Regions from separate parts of the Homo sapiens genome. Here all the other regions are linked to region 4. The links are contacts of gene promoters, found by promoter capture Hi-C in blood cells and fetal thymus (Javierre and others, 2016). All regions are on one chromosome and are shown on one strand. Each heading gives the region's core, a stretch centred on a gene start or on the middle of the fragment in contact. The rest is flanking DNA. Distances are from core to core; before and after follow the strand shown. Region 1 has its middle 65 kb from the start of LINC00342. Region 2 overlaps MAL-AS1 (MAL antisense RNA 1). Region 3 overlaps LOC101926959 (a long non-coding RNA gene). Region 4 holds the start of FAHD2A (fumarylacetoacetate hydrolase domain containing 2A). Region 5 has its middle 100 kb from the start of LINC00342. Region 6 has its middle 85 kb from the start of LINC00342. Region 7 has its middle 110 kb from the start of TRIM43.

Region 1 (3,609 bases), core at 191-2,690, 360 kb before region 4:
TTTTGCTCAGCAGCTAGCTTCCACGGCACTTCTCCCCCACATGACACCACGTCAGGGCCCACAGGAGAAAGTCCGGAGTAGGCTGAGGCACTGGGTCCCCTCCCTTCTCCCAAAGACACCTGCCTACAGGGGGCACTGCCCCCTCTCAGAGACTGGGGGTGGAAGCTTAGCTGCAGGGGGTGGGATGGCTCCAGGACAGGAGAGCCATCCAAGAGAAGGCCAGGGCTCTGGGAGAAGAGGGGTCCTACTGCCCTCCCGGAACAGGGCTCCTGGCTCCGTGAAGCCATCTCCACAACTCCCACAGCTGCCTCCTCTTCCCCTCCTCAAACTCCCATGGCCACCTTCAGCTCCCGCGCCATGAGGTCTGCTCCATGACCGCAGGAGCCAGACAGAGGCCAGGGTAGCCTCGGGCAGACAGACACTTTTGTGGGTGTTCACCCAGAGCTAGACCTCAGGGAAAACAGGGGTGGCCTGGGGGCTGAGAATTCGGCAGTCCCAGCACATCCAGGACCATAAATACGCCATGCCCTTTGACCCGCTAACCCCACTGTTTGGAATTCCTCCCAAAAACATAATTGCAAAGGGAAAAATAGCTATATGTGCACAGCTGTTTATAGCAACATTATTTATCATAGTAAACAAGTCAAGTCAGCCAAAATACTTTGCAAGTTTTGGGAGGGGGAACTGTGGGTCAATAAGGTGGGATATTTATTATACTTACAAGAAAAATGGTAAACTTGTAAAATTACTCATACAATAATGTTAACAGCAGTGAGAAGACAAACTTGCACATATCTGTTCGGGCAGCAGACGATGACTGAGCACCCTGGGCTACGCAGCTGCTCCAGGTGCCAGAGAGATCCCCGTGAACAAGACCAAGTCCCCACCCTCATGGAGGGAACATTCCAGAAGTGCACCATAGGGTCAAAGGTAAATTAAAACTACAAGCAAGTACTTCCCCAAGGCAGGGAGATGGACAGAACCGAGTGTTGTCCACTGCGGGGTCCATCCTTCCTGGGCTGGGTGGGTCACCAGGGAGTGGCCCCACAGAGGTCTGCAGGCTCCTAAGGCAGGAGCCAGACCCAGGATCAAAGCAAGGGGCACCTAGCCAAGGGCAGTGGGTCCTGCCAGACCACAGGGTCTTCTCCCCACAGGAGGGAAATTTGTCAGGCTGCTTTTAGGAATCCCATGAACCTTTGGGGTTTGTGGATGAACCAGGGGAGGAGCAGTCCCCGAGATTGTGAGCTGAGTTTTCTACTAACTTAACAAGCTAGGAAGGGTCACAACTGAGGGGCTGGGGATCCATTTTGCCTCCAGCATGGCCAGATCTGCAAGCAGGAGACGTCGTATGGTGGCCTGGGAGGCAAAGGGGTCTGAGTCAGAGGTAAAGGTGTAATCTGAAGGTGGACTGTCCCCCATCCTGCCGGCTCCCTGTGGTCCAGAGAGTTGGAGAAAGCCCCTTGGACCAGAGCATTCCCACACTTGGTCCTGTGTCGGGTAGGAGATTTGCAGGAGGCCGTTTCTGCTGTTCCAGAGCCCAGATGTACTTCCCTGGGGTGCTGGGAGCCAAGGCATGGAACTGCAGTCGCCTCCCAAGTTCAGGGCCCTGGGTGGAGCTGCTGGCTGCAGCCAGGGCCAGGGAGCAGAGATGCCCCTCTGCCACCCTGCCCCACCCCAGGCAATGAAGAAACTCCAAGCTCTGGGTCCGTGGGAGGCACCCGGCAAACAGAGGAGTCGGCAAGCTAACCTTGCTATTAGCAGCGATGGAGAAGTGATGATTGTCTGCACAGCTGTCAGAAGCAGCTCCCCGCTGCCTGGCACCAGCACCTGGGGAGGGGCCGCCACTCATCGGCCTTCACAGAGATGCCCCAGGCTGGGAAAGAAAGACCAGCAGGCCGGACCTTCTGTGCCACCACTCCCTCGTCCTTAGCTGCAGGGATCTTGCCCTTCATCCAGAGACTGAGACCGGGAAGCGAGGCCCACCTCTGCACCTGCCCCCATAGCTGGGCCTTCGTTCCTCAAACTGTAAGCTGGGGATGAAAGTAATACCACCTTTTGTGGCGGAATTGTTGGGAGGGACCAGCGAGATATTTTGTCTGAAGCACCTTGCAAATGGTAAAGGGCTATGGGGTCACTGCTGTTACAATTCTTCTATCAAAAATCTAAAAATCTAATCTTCAGGGCTTTCACTGTCTGTTTCATTCACACAGAATAAAATTGAGGCTCAAGAGGTTACACGATTTGACCAAGTCACACAACTGCAAACAAGTAGGTGTCGGTATTCAGGATTGAAGCCAGGAGGAAGCTCAAAGAGCATCCAGCCCCCATGCTGTAAAAGGGATTCAAGGCCCAGAAACAGAAGGTGATTAGCCTTGCAGCAGGACAGAAGGCAGACAGCACCGAAGCCCAGCTCTGCTCACTCTGCTGGGAGCACTTCTCAGGCCACTGTGGATCTGGGCATTGTCCTCAGCTAGGGGTGGCTGCAGGAGCAGCCTGAGGAATGAACCCATGCCAGAGCACTGAAGATGGGCCCCTGCCCCGCATGCTCCCCACCCAGGTCTCTTCATCTCAAAGGGGCTCTAATAGAGACCCAGAGTGGCTGGAGGAATGCACTTTAATGGTGGAAATGTGGGTTCCAGAGTCTGCTCAAGATGGGGTCCCAGAGCAGGGAAGGAGCCTGCCCAGGCACAAGGCAGGGGCACCTTTCAAAGCTTCATGTGCTGCCTGGGGCCCTTGACAACCCAAGGCCTTCCGGATGCTTTGAACACAGTCTTCTCAGCCCTGCCGCAGCCCCACTTGACAGAAGACAGACGAACTGGGAGGTGAGAGGCACTGCCCGCCTGACCACCCACCACCCATTGCCTCTGCCTTTTGACAGCACTTACGTGGGCAGAGAGGCGGGAATGCTGATTGCACCATGTGGGAGGGACGTGGAGGGTGGGGAGGTGACTCACAGGACAGTGGGGGATAGGAAGCAGCTCCAGAGCCTCCCTGACAGTGAAAGGGAAGGGTGCCTGTGACTCAGGGACAGCTGGGGAGGGGCGGGTGGGAAGGGAGCTCATTCCTTGAACCACGGTTATCTGTACCCAGCAATGTACCCTGGGTGCCTGGGCCCCACTCTTGCCCCCATGGGGCAGTCTTTGCCCTCAGCTTGCTTCCCAGCAGTAGCCAGGCACCCAGTAGCTGCATGATGAGTGAATTCCAATCTTGCCCGCTGCTGCCCAGCTGAGCAGACCTTCGGCAGGCTGAGTGCTCCTCTGCCCTCACATCTAGGCCTATAGATGGGAGCAGAGCTGATTGCCCATCCTGCAGCTGTGAATATTACAGCTTCCAGCAGCTTCTTGCTGCAGACTTGCTGAGAGGACTGAGCACTATAGCAGGCCACCCCAGCCCCCAGGAACCCCCTCTGAGATGGCCCCCACAAATAGCGAATAAATGCCCTACTCCCAGGCCCCCTTGCTTGCAGTTCTCCTTTCACCCCTGCCCTGCACTGAGCCCCCTGACTATGGCTCCCTGATTCATTCTCACCAATACCCAGTGTCCCCAGAACGCAACACACTGGGCCCTGGCAGGGCACAGGGGAAACAGCACATTTCAGACTGGGACTTT
Region 2 (4,094 bases), core at 1,052-3,551, 390 kb after region 4:
CTCAGGAGGGATATCCCACCTGGTCTGCAGGACTGGAGACCAGCAGGGCTGAGGTGAGTCCTGGGCCACTCTGGCAGCAGGGGAGGTCAGAGTCTGACCCCCACTGGGGAGACAGATATGAGGAAGCTTTAGAAGAGGGGAGCATTCCCTCTGTTGTTGTCTCTGGTGACCTGAAGACCCATCTAAGTGCTGACTGATGACCAAGAGAACAAGGTGCTGGTACCCGTGACCTGGGCCACCATGAGCCACTGCACCTGAAGGTAGGGAGCCCCTCTAAAGGATGGCAGCCTATCTCATGGCCAATGATAACTTACCTGTGAGCTTGTTGGGGCTTGGGGGCTCTTCCTTGCAACCAATGACTTACACGCAAGGTTGCTAGTACAAGGAGCTCTTTGTCAGGCTTCTGGTTGGTGGATAGAGTCATCTGAAGGCCACTTCTGTCCTCTAAGCCCCACCTGCCCTTCTGAGGATTACAGGATGGGCATGGCCACTTATTGAACATGTATTAACTGCCAAAGGCTTTTTACTCGTGATCTCTAAACCTTACAACCTTCCTTATAAACAAAGGAAGTGATGCTCAGAGAGGCTAAGTGACTTTCCTAAGCCCACACAGCAAAGAAATAGTGGAGCCTGATTTGAACCCAGGTTCCTTCTTCAATGCAGAGCCTGCTCTTCCCTCTGGCCACCATCCCGTGTATCCAATGCTTTGAGCAGTTGCCTCAGTGGCAGGCTGGGCTGTTACTGCTTCTCTGAGCCTCAGTCCCCTCATCTGTAAATTGGGATCACAAGAGTTGAGAAGGAGGTGCCTGGTGCCTGGCACAAAGCAGCTCTTGACTACCGATGCCAGCCCCTCTGCATGACCCGCCTCTGGGCCTTTAAAAATTTTGGCAGTGGCTCACGCCTGTAATCCCAGCACTTTGGGAGGCCGAGGCGGGTGGATCACGAGGTCAGGAGATCGAGACCATCCTGGCTAACATGGTGAAACCCCGTCTCTACTAAAAATACAAAAAATTAGCCAGGCGTGGCGGCGGGTGCCTGTAGTCCCAGCTACTCAGGAGGCTGAGGCGAGAGAATGGCGTGAACCCGGGAGGCGGAGCTTGCAGTGAGCCGAGATTGCGCCACTGCACTCCAGCTTGGGCGTCAGAGAAAGACTCTGTCTCAAAAAAAAAAAAAAAATCTCTCTCTATAGACTGGAGGCAAAGAAGAGGATGGAGCTAATAATGAATGATGGCAGCATGGAGTCAAGCCCGAGGTCTTAGAGAAAGTCACAGATGACCGCGTCCCGTCATCTGCCCACTGCAGAGCCCAAGGCACAGAAGGCCTCTCGCCGTCACAGCTCCAAGTGCTGGAGCTGGAGGCACACAGGCGGCAGTGTGTGAGGGGCAGGGCTGCCAATGGGCTGTAGGCTTTATGGCCTAGTGAGAGACCCTGGAATGTAATCTGGGCTTTCATCGCTCTGCAGCTGGAGTAGGGCAGGTCACTGCCAGCCTGCGCTGGGCTGGACTGCTGGTCACCAGGGACCTCTAGACCTCTGTTCACAGCAGACTGCCAGGCCTAGAGCCCAGGGAACCCAAGGCAGGACTGATGGAGTGGAGAGGAGGGAAAGGCGAGGCCCCCACTCCTGCAGCTCTGCAGGCTCCAGCAGCATTAGAAAGGAAAACTGTTTTAATGGCCTCCTCGAGGCGGAGGGAGTGGTGTTTAACAGGGCCTGAGGAATGGGCCCTCAGTGAGCTCCATGAGGCCTACTGGGTGCTGGATCACATGGCATGAACACCAGAGCCCTCTACCATCTGGAGACTGTGGCAAGTTCTTTCATGCTCATGGGTGAAGCAGGCATCCTGGTGGTACTTCCCCGTGGGGTGGTTGAGGGGTTAAGGGAGGCTTTCCTGTCCTGAGCCCACCCCATATGAGTGGCTACTAAACGACGGCCTCAGCATTCGTTACCCCTGGGAGGGCCTCCTGTCTCTCCTCTCTCTGCATAAGCTGCCCCAGCCGCCTTCCCACCCAGCCTCCGGGCTTCCAGCCCCCAGACCTGGGAGACATAAATGTCTGTTGTTTCAGCCACCCAGCCTGTGGTATTTGGTTACGGCAGCGTGAGTTGACTAAGACCCAAGGAGAGAGCCCACACCCCCGATTTCCACTGGGAAGTGGCGGCAGCAGCACTCAGAGCTCTCAGGTCTTTGTACAGCAGTCCCTGGGCCAAGTCTTGCTGTAGATGAGCTCCTATCAGCTCTACCAGGGCAGTCATGCTGGCATGCCCACTGTAAGGATAAGGAACCAGAGGTACAGAGAGATGGAAAAACTTGCCTAGAATCACAACGGTTAGAAAATGGCAGAGGAGGGATTTGCACTTTTGGGCTCCAGAGTTCACCGTCTTTTTTTGTTTTTGTTTTTGAGGCAGGGTCTCACTATGCCGCTGAGGCTGCAGTGCAGTGGCGATCATGGCTCAGTGCAGCCTCGACCTCCCATAGCCGGCTAATGTTTTTTGCATTTTTTTTGTAGAAATGGGGTTTTGCCAGTTGTTGCCCTGTCTGGTCTCAAACTCCTGAGCTCGTGATCCTCCTGCTTCTGCTTCCCAAAGTGCTCAGATTACAGGTGTGAGCCATGGTGCCCCGCCCAGAGTCCAGGGTCTTAACTACAGTGTTTGATTCTGCCCCAAACCAGCTCAGTTGCCTCTGGGTCTCAGCAATTCCATTTTTAAACTTGTTATTGATATACTCACAGTCTGTGAAATTTACACAACACATAATTATGTGAACACACTGCCAGGTCGCCTTGCAGGGCCATGGAAGGGACTGGCCAGCAAGGGCCCAGCTGCTGAGGCTGCACAGCCCCACAGCAAAACGTCCCTGCGCTGAGCAGGGTTCAACCTTACAAAGAATTGAAGAGTAGATTTATATAATAATGGGATACGTGATGAATTTTGAAATTATTGCCCAGATAATGAAACTTTGGAGCAATATATAAAGATTGTGACCCCTTGGGTAGGCAGGTGTTACCTTGACTAGACTTGCCCTCTTTAAGTTATGGTTATTCTTTTTATTCTTTATTCCACTTCTTTGCCCACAGTGCTGTGGGCTTTAGGGTCACTCTGGCTTCCTCTGACCGGCCCTGGAAAGGAGGCCTCCTTCATGGCACCTTTTGTTGTCCTTGAAGAAAGTTTTTGTTACAGGAAAGGTTAACCAGAGGTTACTCTGCTTTATAGAGTTAATATCTCACTCATTAAACCCACACATTCAAAAACCCAGTTTTTACTCAGGCATTTAATTTCAGCCAGCAAATTGTAAAATTGTACGTGTATATTTTGAAAATTGTACATATTTTGTCTAACATTTTTGGCAATCATTTTAAGGACAACTTTATTTCTTAATAATTTCTTAAGGATTAAATTCCCTTAAACCTTTAGAATTGTATTTATAAATGTAATAGTTTCTGTTTTTCCTGTAAGTATTCTAATTATTAGAATTATTTAAAATATTCCTGAATATTTAAACAACTTATGAATCCAATAGATTAAATCTAGAAATATGGTGTATTTTGAGTTCTCTCAAGTCTTCTATACTGCTTATAAATTTAGGACATTTTAAGTAAAAATCACAAAGCTCAGCTGATGACATATTTTAAATTAGAAGCAAAAAAGGTGAATATTTACTCCATTAGGGCTAATTTCTTTTAAACTTGATGAAACACCTAGAATTTGTAAACTATGTGCAAACTTACATGAAATATTATTATTTTGGGTTTGGTTTATTTAATAATTCTCTACTTTATTCTAACCCTCCCTGGGCCATGGTGACTCAGAGACAGGGTCAGTGCACAGGCTGGGCCCATGGAGAGCAGGGCATCCAGAGCTTGTCAAGGGCTGCTGGCCAGAGCCTGCTCCCCTCACTGCTCTTTAAGTGACTGTAACAGAAACGGGTGGCCTTAAGCCAAGCTGAGCGGGGGTTTCATTACACCTGCCTTGTAGGGATTCTGGGATTTGTCATGGGGACACACTACAATGTGTACCTACAATAAGATGGAAAGATGTTCAATTACACTCTATACACATATACACATGAAAGGGAGGGACCCCTTTTGCTTTGCCTGTGTGC
Region 3 (3,593 bases), core at 785-3,284, 260 kb before region 4:
CCATCTCAGGCACGTAGAATTCTGTGATGCCTGGTGGCTTCTTCAGAAAGTGTTTCTCCTCCTCCACCCTACTCCTCAATCTCAGACTTCAGCATGAATTCATTACACCAACTTGCTAGCTCCACCCTTCTCTCTGTTGGGGGCCAGGGGCAGGGGTGGTGGGGAGTGATGGCTTTGCAACCCAAGCAGGAAGCAGAAAAGGAAGGGACAGGATTACTAGCAAACCAAAGGTCACCTAGAGTCCCTGGTACACTTGGACAACAATAAGCCCACACTGGTGGCTCTTTTCAGGAGGATGTATGAATGCTGCTTACCTAAATGCCAAGCCTTCACAGGCAGGTCTGAGTGTGCACCATGCCACGTGCTGCCTGGTTATGCATTTATATCAAGCATCACAACACACCCCATTGTTGACCCTATAGAGCATCTCAGGAACTACACTCAGATCTTACCATAAGTCACAGCAAACACAGTTAGGAAGGAAAACGTACTAGAGAGTAGTTGAGTAGATATACATCAAAGTGAAATAAACCACAGTTGTTCAGAAAGTCAGTTTGCAAAGTTAACGACAGACAAGTTCTGCCCAGGCTAGGCCTTGCCGCCTTGCCCCTCTGCACCTTGGCACCTGGGGCAACAGGAAGAGAGAGCAGCTGTAACTATCACCTCGTGGAAGCTTTGGTTTCCCCTTTTTGCAAAGCTCTGCTCTGAGAAAGATGTGCTTCCCAGGAAAAGAGAGAGGGTGATTTGGTTTGCAGGCATAGAGAATGTTTCCACAGCAAAAACTCATCAGCAGTATGTTGCAGTTTTTAAAGAGATTGCTTTCACTTGAGAAAGGTTTTTAAACCAATGGAAAGGTTACAGGAAGAAATACAGAACACTGGTGATGCTGAGGGCAACAGGAGAGCTTTCATTTTATTCATTCTTCATGTATTCATTCAAAAGTGCTTGATAAGTAGCTGCAATTTACTTGACTGTCAACCAAAATTGTGAGAATCCCAGTATGATTTCAAATTGCCCTTTTAGGAAATTAATTAGAAAAGTGATAACGAGTAACTTTTTGTCATCAGTTCTAAAAAGCCATTTGTGAATTTACTTTTATACAGGTTTTGTGACAGTAGGGCCACCAGACATTTTGTATTATACATGCCACTCCTGCCAACCATAGATGTGATATTTAGAGATGATTCTGTGCAGTTGCCAGAGAAAACATGACATATGCATAAACCCAAAGTCGTTTGCTAGTGTTGAGTTTAACTCTCTAGTTTAGAGATGATCAAGAGTTCATCTTATGTGGCAGCTCCATTGGCTGGGGTGCTGTGTTGAGACATCTCCTGAGGCCAATATGGATCAGTAGAAAAAGTGCCTTAGGATCTGGGCAAGAGGGATACTTGGCATCCTGGCTGTTCCATCTTGAGGGCTGCATCCCAGCATCCTTCAGGCCTACTGACCAGGAGCATTGTCCAGCTGTTCATTTTCTCCTAGGAAAGCATTCATGATGAGGTCTGGGCTCTTTTTTCCAGGGGCAGGTCTGAACTGGAGAGATGAGTCGCATGGCTAGAGCACGATACCCAAGTGCTGGGCCCAGACTGTCTGCCACTTCCCTCTCTGTTCCACACAGCCAGCAACAGAGCAAGCTTTTTCCTCCCAGCAGAGCGCCAGTGTCAGGCATGGTGGAGGCAAGGCCAAGCAACCCTGGGGGCGATAGAGGCAACCGGCTTTGGGTTGGACAAGCCCAGTAGACCTATTTCTCCTAGGACCATGAAAAGCCTGTCCCCCACATTTGGCTGGGAGCTAACTGTTAAAGTTGCAGCTCCTTGAGAGTTAACTCCAGAGACAGCTGCACTCCTCACCTTGTGTCTGCATAATTAACCAGCAGTTGTTCCTGCTTTGTGGAACATGGACCAGGCAACCCCTGTGAGGTCCTGTGGGGACATTCTCAGTCTGACTGGCAGGCAATTGGCAGGCAGACACAGCTTCTGCAATGCTTGACTGAAGGGACTGAGGACAGTCCAAGTTTTTCTTTCCCACCTCAAGTCACATTTATCCTTCTCTTCTGTCTCCCTTCCTCAAGACCCTCCCATCATGACCAGCCCCTCTGGACACTGACCCTGCTATTCTCCTGAGGTGGTCCAGATCGGCCCTGATATCTGCTTCTGGATTGGAATTTGAATTGAATCCCGAAAACCTTAAAATGTAAATTCTACAGTGTCTAAGCTAGAAGAACCTTAAATATCTTGTGGACAATCTCACCGTTATGCAGAAAAGGAAAGCACGTTGGCATACCCAAGGACACACAGCTGGCCAGGGCAGGGCTCAAGCCAACTCTAAGGGCTGATTATGGCCAAATTCCACTCACATTTCATCCTACCCAAAACCCTACAAGACATTCAGTCCACAATCATCTGGAGCTGCGTGATCTCCCTAGATAAGCTTCATGCCATCATTTTAACTCACATTTCTATACCTTCAACACTAACATCTTATTTTAATTCCAGACCTATTTTTTTAGGTACCTAAGATTCCTCAGATGCAACCCAACAGAACCTTGTTGCCTTCTTCTTTCCTAAACCTATGCAATCTTCTGTGTTCTTGCCTGTCTCCATTACATTCTTCTGGATGTGGATCTATTCTGGGAGGGAAATGAAGTGCCTGTTCCTCTGGGAGAGAAATGAAACATGTCTCCCGGCCAGATGGCCACAGGGAAATTGCTCTGGGGCTGAACCTCAGACATGAAGATGAACATGAGGCTACCATGATGACTGGCTTCCCCTAGTGGACTCTCAGGGAGTGGACACAGAAGCTTGGACATCTGACATCTCTCTGTTCTCATCCAGCCTCAGCTGTCCACATTCAGGGACTGAAATTCCTTCCTCCCAAGGGATTCAATCTGTGGTAGTTCAATCTCTTTCCAGGCGAGGGAGGTGTGTTAGAACCTAGTACTTCCCAAAGGTGAAGTGAAACCTGCCTCTCTCTAAATTCCACATTGCTAATTAAATATCCCATGTGACTGTCTATATAATATTAAACATGACCCCCATGTTTCCCAGACCAAACACCGTCCCTTCTCTAGACCAAGCATCTTCAGGTCCCAGTGCTCATGGGACCTAATCCCCAAACCACCCCAGATACACACCCTGTTTATGCCCATGGGGGTTAAACCCTGCATAAGGTGCTAAGGACAGACCTGGGTAGAGGAGAACTTCACCTCATGTGCCGTGTTCCAGCAGGAAGGTCAATCTGCTTGAAAACTGCCTGAGGTTACAGCAGTTGTGTGGGCCGCCCAGTCCACAGGTCCTCTTCCCAATCCTCCAAGAAAATGGGGCACAATTTCCATCGCAATGTCTCCTTCCTGCCCTCAGCCAGGACACCTGCCTTGTTTTCTCGCAGCCTCTCCTACACTTTTTTCAAACTCCTTCTCAGATCCTTCCTCTTCTATGGGTCTATGCTATGTGCACCTCTTTGCTGAAAGTAGGAGTGGGTCATTGCTCTTAAACATTACTTATAAAATGAGGAACTGAGCTGGGCAGTCACTAAGGTCTCTCCTCACCTTATATATCCTGTTATTTATTTGTCTTATCTGTTAACTTAATCAC
Region 4 (4,175 bases), core at 1,183-3,682:
TCTAGTTTCTGGAGGAAGTGATGTGAGCTGAGCTGGGCTAAATGAGCAGGACCAGGAATTAGCTGGGTGGCAGCCCAGCATGGGCAAGTGACGCTGGTGAAACTGGCTTCACAGTGGCCATAAACAATTTTTTAAATGCTATTTTGGTCCTGTTAACCTCCTACTTAAAATGGTTTCCACTGCTCACATGATCAAGCTAGAACCTCTACCAGGCTGTCCCAGTCTTCTAGGAGCAGCGCCCCCACCTGCCTCTCCAGATAATAATTATTTCGTTTCTCCTGATAGAGAACAAGTTGCCTGAGGGAAGAGGCTGCAGACAAACAACAGGGTCTGGGCCTGACAGCCATCACTTGTCATCTCCCTGGGTCCAGGGCACATGTCTGTCTCTTTCACTGCCCAGCACTGTGCCTGGTGCACAGAAGGCTCTCAGTGACTTTCTGCTGAATGAACAAATAAGTGACAGAAGCAGGGGCTTGACATTTCACTACTTGGGAAAGCTTAGTGCTTGTTAACTTCAGGAGACATGGCTGTGCCTTCCCACAAGGGCCAGTTGTAGTGGCTCATGCGTGATATCCCTAACAATTTGGGAGGCCGAGGTGGGTGGATCACTTGAGGTCAGGAGTTCAAGACCAGCCTGGCCAACGTGGTGAAACCCCGTTTCCACTAAAAATACAAAAAACTCGCCGAGTGTGGTGGCAGCCACCTGTAATCCCAGCTACTAGGGAGGCTGAGACACGAGAATCGCTTGAACCCAGGGGAAGGAGGTTGCAGTGAGCTGAGATCGCGCCACTGCACTCCAGCCTGGGTGACAGACGAAGACTCCATCTCAATTAAAAAAAAAAAAATCCTCAGGGCTCAGATCCTGTTTTGAGTCCAAGGCTCCACTTAAAGACAAACACTATTCTCTTGTTTTGTTCTTAATCCACGTCTGGCCTCTATTCCTTACCACATGGTGCCTTCCCTGAATGGTTCCTTGCTCTTACAACAAAGGCGGTATTGTACAGCCTTCTATGCCCAAAAATGTGGAGGCAGCTGATCCCCAGACTCTTGGTCCTCACCTGGAGATTCAATCTGCCTTGTTCAGTTGAAGATTCATTAGACTTAGGTCACCACTGTTGTGGCCCACCAGTTTGACTAGAAAACCGAGGGCTTTGACTTCTCTGCCCTGCTGTCTTACACAAGCACCAACTGTGCCACTGTCAAAAGGCTGTTCGAGCCAATGTGCACACACTCAGACACTCCACATGCTAACATAACAGTAACTGCTGCCGCTGAATGCCAACTATTAAGTGCTCTACCTACAATGTCTGATTTAATTCTCGACAATTGTGGAAGGTAGGTACTGTTAGCCTCATTTTACAGATGAAACAATTAAGGCTTAAAGAGGTTAAGAGATTTGCCCAAGGTTACACAGTCCTAGAGCTAGGAGAGGAAGGAGCTGGGATGTGAATCCAAGTCCAGGTGACATGAAGTCCTTGGTTCAGAAGCTTGTAATGCAAGCAAAAAAATCCAGCTTCAGCCCCCATCCCCCTACCAAGGCCATTTTAACCCAGAATGTTGTGGTGAGAAGTGGGGACCTTCCATAGGAAATCCTCCAAAGTCTCTAAAGATTGTAGTGAGAAGTAGGGACCTCCCACAGGAGATCCTCCAGAGGCCGTAACTGCTAACAGACATGCGTGGGGAAACTACAGGCGCCCTCTGGCTGTTGCCTCAGGGACGAGGCTGGTTACCAGCTCTCCAAGAGAACCCCAGGCCCCACTGACTGTTCCCTTCCCACATGACACACACATGCAGGTTCATTCCAACCTTACAGCAATCTCCTCAGGTAGAGCGCCCTCACTTTAAAGAAGAGGACACTGAGACTCAAAGGGATGATGTCAGGTGCCCAAGGTACTAGTCAGAAAGTGGCCCTGGGGCTTCTGCAACAACCACTATATCACACAGCCCGAGCTCAATCCAACTCTGCAAGAGTCCATAAGCAAAGGGGCGGCGACATGAGGTGGAAACAGTAGCCTCCATCAAACAAAGCCTGAGACATGGGTGTGCACGTCGGATTCCATCCCACCGTCCACTCGCCTGGAACCCGTGCCGGTCCCCCAGTTTCCCCATATGCCCAGCTCCAGCCCCGACAGTTAGTGAGTGCTCACACAGGTCCGCCCCGTCTGTGTGGTCAGAAGCGGCTGGGGATCCGGTACTAGTTCTGCGCTCCGCGGGAGACCGGCGCCACGGACACCCTTCTGGCCTAGACCCAGCCAGGCTCGTCCTACCTGGCCGCGGCGGCCGATCTTCCTGCGCTGTAGGGTTAGAGCTCGCGGGGCCGAAGGTCAAGGGCGGCGGGCGCCTGAGCACTGCCACCAGTGACCGCAGCCAGCCGGGGAAATGCAGCAGCTGCTAACCCAGGGCCACTCGGCCGGATCACCCGAGAGAAAAGCGGGCGCGATCCTGTGACGTCACAGGCAATGGCCACTAGCAGGGCGCCAATCCCGGAGGGGCGGGCCCATCGTGGGGCGGGCGGCTCCGGCGGGTCTTCAGGCTACGGGTTCAGCCAGGCGCCAGCCGCGTTCTCTGGAGACGCTCTCTCTCGGAGGGACCCTGCACTTGCCTGAACTCGAGAGTGGGCGCTGCCCGAAGGTTTGTCCCTGGGCGCTTCGCTGGCCTCATCCGGTCTCGGCCTTGTTCTGGGCCTGGCGCCTTTCCCATTGTTGGGGAAAGTGGTCTAGGAGACCAAGGCAGCGTGCTGGGTGGCAGAGAATGATTTGTGGCTTCTGATTCTGACATATGTCGTTGAGGAGGGGAGGGATGACTGCCCCCGTTTTACTTATGGAGAACCTGGGGCCAGAGCTGTTTTCCCAGGGTGACACAGGCGGTGAGTAGTGGAGCTGGCATTCCTGACCCCAAAGCGCAGCGTTTCCCAGCCACTCTCCGCAGCCAGGCCTTCACCTGCACTGCTGGGCGCAGGTGGGGAAGTGGGGAAACGGGACTCCATCCCCTGCAGAGGGCAGGCGTGTAGGGAGTGGCAGCTGAACTCCACAGACAGCTACTGCTCAGCTCTTCAGCTGCCGACTTTGAACAGTGTGAGGGGCTCTGTACAAGTGGCCCCCACATTACTCAAGGACCAGATCATCAAGAGCTTTACTTGTCCCACGAAGGAGTCTGGACCTTGTTTACGTGCACAGGAGACCGCTGGAAGGTTCTCAGTGGCGTGCCATGTCCCGACTTCTATTTGAGAAGTTTTTCTCTGGCCACCCGTCTGAGGAAAGGTGTCTGGGTGGGTGGTGCGGTTGAGAACAATGGTGGTGCGGTGCGTGGTGGAGAAGGTGAGTGTCCAGAGATGTTCAGGAGGAAGAACTGACAGCTCTGAATGACAGGAGGTGGAAGTGAGAAGGAAGGAGGTACAAGGCCAACTCCTGGGTCTCTAGCTCGGTAGGTGCAGGGCCGTTCATGGAGACAGGGCTCCTGGAGGAGCAGCGGGTCTGGGGAGAGGATGGTGAGCTCCGATTTGCATGGGACATCCAAAGGGCATTGAACGGTGGGCAGTTGGAGACATGGGTCTGGAGCTTGGGACTTCAGCCTAGCTTGCAGAAGGTCACCACAGATATTGAAATGGAACCTATGGGGGTGGCTGTGATCAGGGGGATTCGCTGAGGAGAACCTGGCACAAGGGTTTCACTAAGCCATAGCTCCCAAAGACTTTCTGAAAAGCTAAGTTACAGCCTGGAAGAAAATATCTGTAAAGGCTATATTTGATAAAAAGACTTGTATCCAGAATATAGAAAGAATGCTTAAAAGTCAGTAGATAAAATCAAACAATTCAATTTTTTAGATGGACAAAATATTTGAACTGACATTTCATCAAATAAGATATACAGACAGAAAATTGGGACATGAAGGCTGGGCGCAGTGGCTCACGCCTGCAATCCCAGCATTTTGGGAGGCCGAGGCAGGCGGATCACAAGGTCAGGAGATCGAGACCATCCTGGCTAACACAGTTAAACCCCATCTCTACTAAAAATACAAAAAATTAGCCGAGCGTGGTGGTGGGCGCCTGTAGTCCTAGCTACTGGGGAGGCTGAGGCAGAAGAGTGGCGGGAACCCGGGAGGTGGAGCTTGCAGTGAGCCGAGATCGTGCCACTGCACTCCAGCCTGGGCGACAAAGCAAGACTCTGTCTCAAAAA
Region 5 (3,979 bases), core at 502-3,001, 320 kb before region 4:
CATAGCACAACATTGGACACAATAAATGCTCACTCGGTTAAAAGGGTTAATAGTGGTGGTGATGGTGGTGATGGTGGTGGTGGTGGTGGTGGTGGTGATGGTGGTGGTGATGGTAGTTTGATCCTGACCTAAACTGGGTGAATAATTTTATTCCCATTTCACAGGTTCAATAAACTCAGGTTCAAGCAGTCAAGGGTCTTGCTCAAGGTCACACAGTTCATGGCAGGTCCAACTCAAGTTCCACTCTCTTTCTGCCTGGGAGCTCAGTGAGTGATCCAAATGACCTAAGGAGGAGGAGCTGAGACCAGAATGGACATTCTTTTCTGGAAATCAGAGGACAAGAAAGATCCAAACCAAAGACCAAACTGAGCTAGGTAAAACATGAAAACATTCCAAATCATTACTTAGAACTAGTTAAGAGCATGCCTACTGAGAAAGTCACTCTCTTCTACTTCCCTGAAATTGCCAACTTGGGCAAGATTTCACCATTCTCCTCCCCAGTATTCATCTACCTCAGATGTAGTACTTCTGTACTCAGATGTAGTGCTTCAAGGGAAGTCTTACAACCAGGAACAGAGGTGAAGTTTCCCCTAGAAGGAGCCCTAAGTCTATGGGTTTAAGCGGCAAAGGCAAGGAGGCTCCAATCTTGACCCCAAGCTACTTCAAGAGGGTCTGGGCTGCAGAAAAAGCCCACCTGTCTAGGACCTTTCCTCTGGGCTATAGTTCTACCCCCAGGTGAAATCTACTCAATAAAAGCATTAAGACAGCATTTATGGACCAACTTACGTAAGGGCCAAAGGTCAGGGACTGCAGCTTGTATTAGGACTAAAAGAAGAGAGTGACCTCAAAAGTTACAAATGACCTGGGGGAGTTATGAGATGTGGCACTCACCACTCTTTGGTTATGACTGTAATGTTGCTGGGAGCTAGACACTCGTCATGGCTGAGGCCCCAAGTATCTGTATGATGACATGACAGGTGCTCATAGACACCTGTCAAATAAATGAATAGAAGTCCCATCACTCCAAGTGAGCTTTGTGACACACTCTCGCAGCCACTCTCTCCTTTGGTTTTCCTGGCAGCTCTGAGAGTTAACCTCAGCATGCATTCTTATCCACCAGTACACACTAAGCTCTTCGGGAGGCCTCTCATTAATAAGAGCAGCACAGAGTTTCTGAGCACAAATCTTATGAGCTTTCCATGATGCCACATGTTGAGGTGCCAGAGTGCTGCCTGGTACATTCTGAGACCTGTCACAGCTCCCCACTTCTTTCTTCCCTTTCTCCAGCCCAGGCTTCAGGGGGCACCAGATATTTGAGCCCCTGGTGGCATCTTACCTTAGGTTGTTCTGGATGTCACTCTCACTAGCTTCTCTGAGTAGAAAGAACCAACTGAGACATTTGCAAAAGAGTTGTGAGTTTCAAGTGGGAAGACCTAGGATCTAGGACCAGCTCAGCTCCCTGCTAGCCGAGGATCCCTGGCAATTCATGAAGCATTTCTATTCCTCAGGTTCCTGATCTGGGGTGTGGAGAGGCCAACTAAAGGACACAGGAATGTGACATGACCTTGATGGTACCTGACACATTACAGGTCCTGGGAAAACTGTTGTGGGGGTTAAATATGAAAATGCATGCTAAGCAGTTATCCTGGGGCCTGGGCTCAGTAAACATTGCTACTACACTTATTGTTTCTGACCAACTTTAATCCCTGGGATGATGTCTGTCTAGCATCCTCACACTGGGAGCTGCCTCACTCCCACCACTATGGTTTTCACCTCCCCAGATCCCTGAAAAACACCTCTGCCTCTCTGGTCTCCCCAGGGTCCCCAATCTCTCTGGGCTTCCCCTCACCCAGTCCACTGGGCATGAGTCTCATCCAGCCTGCGTGCAGAAGTCAGGCCCCTCCACCATCCTCACTAACCTACTGCAGCCCCTGCCTCTCAAAGTTCCACCAAGTCTGTGGCAAAACCTCAGGTCAGGCTGAAGGTCCCCATCAGCCTTTGCTGTCTCTCTCTCCAGCTGAGCAGAGTCTTAACCATCTCATATTCATTTTAAGCACATTCCCTGTCCTGGAGCCCAGAACCTTCTCCAGGCCTCTGGAGCACCTGGTTGCACCCTCGCCTCCCTTTTCAGCAAGTGACTTTGCCTTCTTGTTCTGGGGAGTCAGGCCCCCTGGGGTGAGTGCTTCTCTGCATCCCATCAGGACCACAAGGCACATGGGGCCATCGAGAGAAGGGAAGAGAAATGGGAGGGGTGACATGAGATGGAGGCATGGCATTCTGGCAGCGGAAATGGGCTGGAGTGTGGCCCTGGGGACTCACTGACCACTAAACCTTGAGGGTGGAAGCAAGGCCTGATAGCACATCTGGCATGTGGTAGCCACTCAGTAAATATCCACTTATGCATGCCCAGTGTTGACATTTAATAAGCATGTTTTATTGTATTCAACACCATCCCAAGAATGCTGACGTCCAGGATCAAGTTGCCCATATCCCTGCCTTTTATGGACTCCAAGTGTGGGGAGGAACTAAAGAAGGGGAGATCTGCCCAATTTCCGTAACCCAAGATAACATGCTAGAGAGAGCACACAGCCTGTCAGGAGGCTCATTCATCTGCTTGGTGCAGGGGAGACGTTGAACATGTTCAGTCGCAGATATGTCTGAAGAAAAAAGACCAAAGGAAGTGCGGGGGGCAGGTGGGAGGGTGTATTCTGCTTTTCAGAAATCGTGTGTCCTCAGAGGATGCACTTTCCAAAGCCTGTAACATTCGGGCGGCCAGCAGCACGGGCACCTGCCATCTTGCGGACACGAGCTGCCCGTCTGGTTTGTCCTCTGCGCCTCTGCATGGGAGTGAGATGCAGGCCAGTGAAACTGCTCTGTAGACAGGTCAGCAGAGGGAGTGGATCATGACAGGAGCCGGGAGACTGGCTTCTCATTCGGGCCCTGCAGGTGACGGTGTCACCCTGTGTGTGACAAAGAACATCACCTTTCTGCTCAAGGGCCTCTGTTTGAAATTAGGATCTTGGCCCGGATCAGTGGTTCTCAAATTTGGATGTGCATCAGGACCATCTGGAGGGCTTTGGTAAAACACAACTGCCCCCACTCCACCACCACCATAATTTCACACTCAGCAGGTCAGAGGTGGGGCCTAAGACTGATTCTAACAAATTCCCAAATGGGGCTCATGCTGCTGACCCAGGGACAACGCTTTGAGAACCACTGGCCTAAATAATGACTACAGCTACTTCCAGCTGTGAGATTTTAGAATTTTGTTTCTAAGAAGCAGTGTAATATGGGAAGAAGAAATTAAGAAATAAAGGAGGATTTGAGAAGACACATGAGGCCTGGTGCAGTGGCTCACACCTGTAATCCCAGCACTTTGGGAGGTCAGGTGGGAGGATGGTTTGATGCCAGGAGTTTGACACCAGCCTGGGCAACATGGCGAGATTTCATCTCTACAATAAAACTTTTTAAGAAATTGGCAGGTGTGGTGGCATGCACCTGTAGTCTTAGCTACTCAAAGCTGAGGTGGGAGAATCTCTTTGAGCCTAGGAGTTCTAGGTTACAGGGAGCTATGATCACAACACTGCACTCCAGCCTGGGCAACACAGTGAGAACCTGTCCCTAAAAGAAGAAGGAGGAGGAGCAGGAGGAGCAGGAGAAGAACGAAGAGGAGAGGAGAAATTTCTGAACAGTCCCCTCAAGCAACAAGCAGGTACCTGGGCATTGCCCAGTCCTGGCAGAAATGGGGCTGTGGGCCTAGCAGGACTACTCTCTCCTCTTTTCTTCTCTAGGATTTCTTTTCATTTGGTTTTCATTAGCTTCTACATCTGAGACCACATTTCACAGCAGCTGCTGGAGTCTGTAATGAAACACTTTATTGGAAAGCACTTTGAAAATATGAAAGAAAAGGCAGGGGGGTTATTTTGAATGTCTGTTTATATTTTCTGTTTTACCTCCATCAAAAAAGCAAATGATGGTT
Region 6 (3,887 bases), core at 52-2,551, 340 kb before region 4:
CATCTGTTCCTCCTTGTAGTTCTGTCAGTTCTTCCCTATAACTATACCAAGATGCCACTTCTCAGCTATTAAATTCAATAATTTATTCAGATGGTGAGCCTGTTTGATAACGGGAATTCTTATACATTCCCGGAAGGAATACAAAATGGTGCAACTCTTATGGAAGGGAAATTTGGTGTTGTCTAAAAACATGCATAATTGCATATGCACGTATATTTTTTTCTCTCTCTCTCTCTTTGTGTGTCTCTGTCTTTTTCTGTCTCTGTGTGTGTCTCTATCTCTCTCTGTCTTTCTTCTTCCCTCCTTCCTTCTCTACAGTGAGCAGTGAGCTCAGAGATCCCATAGAGTTAATTTGTTTTTGTTTTTCTGTTTCTTTTTGTTTCTTTGTTTTTTGTTTTTTTGTTGGGTTATGGGGTTTTTTGTTGTTTTTGTTTGTTTGTTTGTTTGTTTGAGACAGAGTCTTGCTCTGTCACCCAGGCTAGAGTGTAATGGCATGATCGTGGCTCACTACAACCTCCGTCTGCTGGGTTTGAGTGATTCTCCTGCCTCAGCCTCCCAAGTAGCTGGGATTACAGTCTCCTGCCACCACACCCAGCTAATTTTTGTATTTTTAGTGGAGATGGGGTTTCCCCATATTGTCCAGGCTGGTCTCGAACTCCTGACCTCAGGTGATTTGCCTGCCTCGGCCTCCCAAATTGCTGGGATTACAGGCATGAGCCACTGTGCCTGGCCTGAGTCAATTTATTTTAATCGTTTTTATTTTTTATGTTCTTGTTGATCTATTTCTGACTAGTAAGAGCCCCTATGTCCTTTTGACTCAAGCTATTACTCTTTGATAACTTCCTAGCTTTCTGGCATGGAAAATATTCCAGGATCATCTGTATGTTTCCTGCCCTAGACCCAGAATCAGCCATTCTTTCAAGGAAACTTGATTCCTTATCCTTTAAGGAACCCTGTTTCCTTTCATTGGAGACCAGGGTTAAGAGGACCACATGCCAGTTATGGGCAACTCATTGCCATGAGATTGTGGTTACCTGTGAGGTTTACAGCAGGAAAAGGAAATAATCCATTGAATACCAATAGAATCAACAAGTATACGAGCTACTTAATATAAAAACTGGCATTTTAGGGGAGAAAATAAGCATTTATCCAAACTTTTATGTGTGAACTGTAAAGAACAAAATAGTTGTGACGAGGAAAACCGCTGTGACAAGAATGAAGTTAAAAAGTCACCAATTTCAGAACCTAATAAAAAATGTTCAGGCAGCAATATTCATGTATTAAATAATCTATGACTACCTGAATGCAATAAACCTTAGCACCAATAAAATTGGAGTTAACAGACATTGGAAGCCTCCGTTGTGAACAGGCATGAAGCACACCTCATTTTCTGTAAAACGTCCTTGCCGCAGAAGTTACACATGGATTCATTAAGCCTGTAGAACTAGCTTCCATTACAAGAAATATAGGAAATAAAGAAAGAGAGTAAGTGACACCACAAAGAAGCAAATACACAAAGTCCTAAGTGGTAGGACAACCAATCTGGTTAGGACAATTAGCCTAATATCTGCAACAGGTTAGTGGCGTCAAGCTAAGAGGGCAGAGGGGCCAGTTTAGATGAGAGACTCAAGGGTCATGACAATCAGATTTCATGTGTTACCCTTTATTTGGATCCTGGGCTCACAAGTCAACTATAAAACAATAATGTTCATATAGTTGGGAAAATTCAATTATGAGAAAGGTAATAAATGATACCAAGGAATTCATGTTAATTTTGTTATGGATGATAATCAGGGTCATGCTATGACTTTTGTGGCTTCTAGGAACTTTTGTCTATGTGAGCTTCTTCTTCCGTAAACACAATATTTTGTGACCTCATTTTCGTTATTTAATATAATCCAATATGAACTTAATATTATAGATTAATATTGTTATCTTTATTTTTTGCCTTTAAAAGAAATAAAAATTAAAACACTTTCCTGGGCCCCTGAAAGTACTGTGGGTCTTAGGCACTGGGCCTACTGTGTTCAATGGACAAGTCAGCCTTGGTGATAATGCCACAAAGAATTGGAAGAAATTATTCACAATTATTTTATGCTATAGAGTAAATTAATAAGAATTTAACTCACAAAACAAAGAGCTCAAAGAGGATAACATAAAATGGAAAAAAACTGAAAAGGAATTTGTAATTTTCTGGACAAAAATTGAGAAGCTACATAGTTAAATACATATCATTAAATAATACATACATTAGAAATAGCAAGGAAGAGAATAGTCATCCCTAAAAATATTTTGCTGACAGAATAAAGTCTGGTAGCAATCACAATGATTCGTAAAACAAAGACTAAGGTTAAAGAAATTAGTCTAAATATCCCCAGTTCTATTTACTGATCCACAACAAAATGGATTACCTGTAACATTCTAGCCATTCTCCTCTGGTTGAGCTCTGGGTGGCCTATGTCTCACTAAAAGTGTGGTGCCCAGAGTGGAATAGTCTCCTAGTTATTGTCAGACTGACAGACAGTAGGGCAGAACTCTCACATTACCTGTTCCTATTGGTGTAAACCAAGGGTAATAATTGGTTTATCTAAATTAATGCAAGAAAACAGATCCCGCTGGGAATCTCAAAGAAGGAGGCACTGTTATTCTTGGGAATTTGGCTAGCACCATGGCACCAGCTTCACAAAAGAGTTTTAGAAGTGAGACACCTCTGGTTCCAAGCATGAGAGAATAAAAGTACCCTTTTACTGTGTAAGAGTAAGAGTAAGAGTACCCTCTTACTGTGGTCTATTATAAAAACTAAACAAAATATATAAAGTATCTGTTTTTCAGATATTGGATAACAGACAATGCAGGCTTGTAATCCGCTGGACATGGGTTATCTTAAATCTTTGACGAAATACTAAAGCCTAGCAGAGAACAGTCATGGGGAGGGTGGGGTATAGAGCTGAACAGATTCCAGAGATCACATGTACTGAAAGAATTTGGAGTTCTGACCATGTAGAGTGAAAAGATGTTGCTGAACACCCTCAGCATTCAGTTTAGATCCCAATAAAGGCCATGACTTAAGAATAGGATTTCTCTAGCGGTAGAATAAGGGAAACTCTAGACTGAGCTTAATAAAGTCTAAAACAAACACTCAGTAAGATCAAGCTTATCCACCAATAAATCAGTAAAATCCATGACTCCTTAAAAGAAAGCAATAAAGTCCAGACTCTCAGAAACATAGCCTCCACAGTGGCCAGGACACAATATAAAATTATTAGATACTTGAAGAAGCAGGCAAATCTAGCCCATAACCAAGAGTAAATAGAGTCAGTAGAAACAGACCCAGACATGATATTGGAATTAGCAAACAAGGATTTTAAAATAGCATCATAAGTGTGCATGTTCAGAAATTTAAAGGAAAGAGTGACTATAAGTGAACAACACATGGAGAAAAATCAAGATAAATAGTAATTATAAAAATTAAAATTAAAAATTAAATGAAAATTCTACAGCTAAAAAACACAAAATCCAAAAGAAAAATTTATTGCCTTGGCGTCAAAACAGACTAGAAAAATGCACCAACCAAAAGGTAATGATATCAAAGAGTGAAATCAAAATGATGGCCACAAAACACCCTTGCCTTCTTCGCTACTCCCTCATGGAGGTCTTTGCTCAAGATAAAATGGTTTACTCATTCACTGTCCCCTAGATACACCCTTTTTTTTTCTTCAGTTTCCAGGTGTTTGCTCACATTTTTCCCTTATCTGGCTTTAAGATTTAATATGAGAAAAGTGATGTGGGACAGTCAATGTCAGGAGGTACAGTCTGTACTATTCACTGGTAATGGAATGAGAGTCTAGACATGTACTATCCTGGGGCTGAATTATCTACAAGTCAGA
Region 7 (3,657 bases), core at 1,013-3,512, 300 kb before region 4:
CGCTCCCACACTCAGCCCACTATCTCCCAAGGAGGACTTTGACTTCTCTTTGTCCTTAATCTTGTAAATAAGAAGGGAAAATGTAAATCACCTCAGCGCTAGAGAGTAGGACAGGGCTGGAGCCCGCCTTCCAGTGGGAGGGGGAAGATCCATTCCAATACTTATTTATTATTATTATTTAGAGGAGAGAGAGGGGAAAGAAGCCAGAAATATTTCCAAAATGTCAACACTGTTAAGGAAATCTGAACACCTTAATCCATTTAAATGTCAGCTAGACCCAGGCAAAGGGTTTTTGGGAGGGGAGAATGAGGAAGTAAGGAGGGGCAGAGAGAATTAACGCCAGATTCCACATAATCTATCAAAGTTTCTTTCTTTTCTTAATGTATTAAATATTAAATCCTTCTTTGCATCTGAGTGAGAGAGGAGAGAGAGAGGGACCAGGGTGGAACTCATAAATGCCTAGATAATTGGTTTTGAGGTTTTCTTCTTCTTTCTTTCTTTCTTCTTGGTGGATTCTCAATTTCCCTATAAAAGAGAAAATTCATTTCCAGCCTCTAATGTAATGTCAGCGTGCTGTTTACTAAGCATGGATGATGTATAGGGGGACACTACTTTCAGAGGACTACTTAATGATGCATAGAATTAAATCCTGAGCTCCTCAGCTGAGCCTCCTCCCTCCCTCCTGGTTCCCAGGCTCCCAGTGCATCCTGGGAGAAGCAGGCTTGGCATAACCTGTCTCCCTCATTACTAGAATTCTGGGGTCTCTGCCGAAGAAGCTTGGAAATCACCCTTCACTTTAGCAGACACATTTGCCCTTGGCGTAGACCAGAGTGAGCTTCTGGGCAGTAAGAAGCTGATGGCCAGGGGAAAGAAGACTGCTCAGTGCTGAGGGAGATAGAAACAGGGAGTTCATAGGATGCACCAGGGTGTTGGGGTTTCCCTGTAGGGAAAGGGCTGGCCAGGGAGAGGGAGGGGTGGAGCTTCTCCCAACTCGCCCTCTGACCCCTGGGAACCATAGCATTCAGATGTCAAGTAAAATATATTTCCCTAGTTCAGCTCCAACCTTAGGGGCCTGTGAGGCTGTCATTGCCACAGCAGCACCTTGGTTCTCATGCACATGCCAGGCAGATGCATTGTCAGTGCAGGCTGCTCTCACAGTGGGCTGGCCAGCCTGGGTGGGCCTGGCCTCCCCTGAGGAGCTGCACCCTGCTGAGAGAATACCCCACCTTCCCCCCTGGGGAAAAGTGATTCGGCCATGCCACCAAGGAGACCACCAACTGGTGGTCAGCACTGAGGAACTGGGAGTGAAGGCAAGAAGATAGACAATGGGAGGGACCAGTGGGCTGAGGGGAGAGGGGAAAATGTAGCTCTCCTGCGGTGGGGGTGTTGGGAAGGAGTATCCAGACACACAGTCCCTTCTGAATCTCCACCAGGGTCGCTTTGACCCCCTTGAGTCTGCAGAAACTGACTTCCCCCTAGGTAAACCCAGTGGCCTCACTTTCGTTATCCTCCTGAGCGTTTGCTATCACTAACCACTCTCTCCTTTTGGAAGCCCTCTACTTAGGCGTTGTCGATGCTGCTCTCCGGAAAACTCTGTGAGTCCCTATCTCCTTTGTGGGGGTCTTGGGCTCTTCTAGTCTGCGAGCTGAGGATTTCCTATAGGAGTCTTTCTTGATGGCTCTCTCCTCTGTATATTTTCACTCCCTATACAGGTTCCCTGTTTTTCATGAATCCAAAGCCCATGTTTCCAATCTAACCATGAACCTGGGCTCCCAGAGTATGTCCACAGCCTCCTCTAGCAGCAAATTCAGAACCGTTCCCCAGTCAGCTCCCTTCCCCACCACCCCACTTCTGCCCATGCTATTGCCATGGCTTTCAGATTAGAAAACTTAAAGTCATCATTGTCTCGCTTTTCTTTTATTAAAATTTTGAAATGACCTGTGGCTTCCATCTTTCCTACTTATCCCCTGACCCCCATCACCCCGATCCAAGTCCTAGGCCTAAACTCCTGCCAAGGTCCCCCAAATTTTACCTTCCTGCAGTTGAATCATCCCAGTCTATCCTGAACTCTGAGCCCAACCTCATTTTCACAAAATACCATTTAAAACGCGTCATTTTACAGAGGCTAGTCACCACCCACTGAACTGTGTCCAGACTACACAGCCCTGAGCAGATCCTGCTTCAAAGGAGAATCAAAGGGAGCGCTTTCACCAGCTGAACCTGTGGAACAACAGTTGGAGAAACTGAGTTTCCAACCTGGAAAAGGGGAAGTTAAAAAGTTGCTGAGCTTGTTTAGAAAATCAGAAGAACTGCTCTGCAGCAAACAGGGAGAGATGCTGATGACACACAGAGAGATATCTGAAATCAGTGAACAGCAGAAACCATGAGCTAGGCTCCACAGGACTTTCCAACAGAGGCATTTAAAGGTGAAATGATCTTTCCCATCTTGAAATATTTCCCAACAAAGACTGATGATCACATATAGGGATATTACAGAGGAAACCCACATGTAGGACTGGTGAGGCATACATAGTTTTTCTAGAAGGGTTTTAAAGTTCCTCCCCACCCAGAGGTACTGTGATGCTGCACCTCGCTTCAAGAACTTCCTTCATCTGGCCATCCCTCTGTATTCCTCTTTTTTCCCAGCATCCCAGTGTATGTCCAGGCAGGCCAGATTCCTCACTGTCCAAACACATTCCATGCAAGTCTTTGCCCATGTGGCTTCCCTATGAAGAATGGCCTCTTGCTAATCCTTCAGACCCCCTCCTCCAGGAGACCTACTCAGACTCCTCTGCTGTCTGCTATCTTCGCTCAGCCCTTCAACCACACAATCTTGTACTGTACTCCCCTTCCTTACCCTTAACTTTTTCTAAGTGAGGATGAATCTGACCTCCTATAGTATACGAATCATAATGCGTCTTTTGCAGTCTCACTGTAGCTAACATAGAACCTTGCAAACACTGGCCATTAATAAAAACTCGATGCGTTGGTTGATTAAACACAGTTACACACAAAGTTCACTGCCCACCTTGAGTATTGCCGTGTGAGCCTTGCCAGTCAAGAAGTGTTGCCCAAAGAAAAATTCTGTGTGTGGCTCTCCATCATATACTGAACAAAATGCAGTTCCTAAGCATGACACTCAGACCCCAGCCCATACTGATCCTGAGCTACCTGTTCAAATGTTCCTGCATTCCTTACTCTATCACTGGCCAAATCAGACTATATGCCATGCACTATTTTCACAGTTTCCCTGCCTGGAAAGCCCTTCCCATTCTTACACACCTGGACATTCCTATTTGGTCTTCAAAAGGCAGCTCAGAAATCACCTTCTCAGTGGAGCTTTTCCTGATGACCTCTAAGGCAGCTTCTTTGCTCCCTCCTCCGTGCTCCCAGGACACTTTGGGCAGATCTCCATTATATTGCTCACCATATTTTATTATAGTTAATTGTGTACACATCTGCCTTCCCCACCATATGATGTGCTTGCCCTTCAAGGGCAAGGACAATGTCTTACCCATCCCTCATCCCTTTAGTACCCAGCTGCGTGTGAGGTGTATAGGAAGAAGGAAGGAGAGAGGGAAGGTACAGAAGGAAAGGGAGGAAAGGAGGAAGGGATACAGAAAAGAAACAAAGGAAAGAAAAGGGAGAAGATATTAT

Evidence for each region. The method cuts DNA at HindIII sites, captures the fragments that hold promoters and counts their contacts. A CHiCAGO score of 5 or more calls a contact.
Region 1: a fragment that was not itself captured here is called in contact with the fragment with the promoter of FAHD2A in region 4 in 1 of 17 cell types (M0 macrophages); the score reaches 6.8 in M0 macrophages.
Region 2: a contact is called between a fragment that was not itself captured here and the fragment with the promoter of FAHD2A in region 4, in 1 of 17 cell types (total CD4 T cells). The highest score is 5.4, in total CD4 T cells.
Region 3: a contact is called between a fragment that was not itself captured here and the fragment with the promoter of FAHD2A in region 4, in 2 of 17 cell types (M2 macrophages and endothelial precursors). The highest score is 5.4, in M2 macrophages.
Region 5: a contact is called between a fragment that was not itself captured here and the fragment with the promoter of FAHD2A in region 4, in 7 of 17 cell types (M0 macrophages, M2 macrophages, M1 macrophages and 4 more). The highest score is 13.6, in M0 macrophages.
Region 6: a fragment that was not itself captured here is called in contact with the fragment with the promoter of FAHD2A in region 4 in 5 of 17 cell types (M2 macrophages, M1 macrophages, M0 macrophages and 2 more); the score reaches 19.5 in M2 macrophages.
Region 7: a contact is called between a fragment that was not itself captured here and the fragment with the promoter of FAHD2A in region 4, in 4 of 17 cell types (M0 macrophages, M1 macrophages, M2 macrophages and 1 more). The highest score is 9.5, in M0 macrophages.

The regions. Positions count from the first base shown.
Region 1 is chr2:95,760,603-95,764,211 of GRCh38, reverse strand. No RefSeq gene overlaps it. Among named protein-coding and RNA genes, the nearest start is that of LINC00342, 65 kb to the left of the region's middle. RefSeq lists an enhancer at 1,289-2,203. The HindIII fragment of the contact is 2,546 bases long and covers 168-2,713 here.
Region 2 is chr2:95,008,284-95,012,377 of GRCh38, reverse strand. It overlaps MAL-AS1 (MAL antisense RNA 1), which reads left to right. Exons shown (of 8, transcript XR_007087136.1): 7 at 1-4,094. Among named protein-coding and RNA genes, the nearest start is that of MAL, 15 kb to the left of the region's middle. The HindIII fragment of the contact is 4,346 bases long and covers 129-4,094 here.
Region 3 is chr2:95,666,016-95,669,608 of GRCh38, reverse strand. It overlaps LOC101926959 (a long non-coding RNA gene), which reads right to left. Exons shown (of 2, transcript XR_007087142.1): 1 at 3,185-3,593; 2 at 885-1,692. Among named protein-coding and RNA genes, the nearest start is that of TRIM43, 76 kb to the right of the region's middle. The HindIII fragment of the contact is 796 bases long and covers 1,637-2,432 here.
Region 4 is chr2:95,400,965-95,405,139 of GRCh38, reverse strand. FAHD2A (fumarylacetoacetate hydrolase domain containing 2A) reads right to left here and starts at 2,432. Exons shown (of 8, transcript NM_016044.3): 1 at 2,268-2,432. RefSeq lists enhancers at 1,524-1,643, 1,784-2,722, 2,714-2,793, 2,723-3,662. The HindIII fragment of the contact is 5,947 bases long and covers 1,490-4,175 here.
Region 5 is chr2:95,720,940-95,724,918 of GRCh38, reverse strand. No RefSeq gene overlaps it. Among named protein-coding and RNA genes, the nearest start is that of LINC00342, 100 kb to the left of the region's middle. The HindIII fragment of the contact is 7,546 bases long and covers 1-3,979 here.
Region 6 is chr2:95,740,346-95,744,232 of GRCh38, reverse strand. No RefSeq gene overlaps it. Among named protein-coding and RNA genes, the nearest start is that of LINC00342, 85 kb to the left of the region's middle. The HindIII fragment of the contact is 3,708 bases long and covers 1-3,155 here.
Region 7 is chr2:95,696,866-95,700,522 of GRCh38, reverse strand. No RefSeq gene overlaps it. Among named protein-coding and RNA genes, the nearest start is that of TRIM43, 110 kb to the right of the region's middle. The HindIII fragment of the contact is 2,968 bases long and covers 779-3,657 here.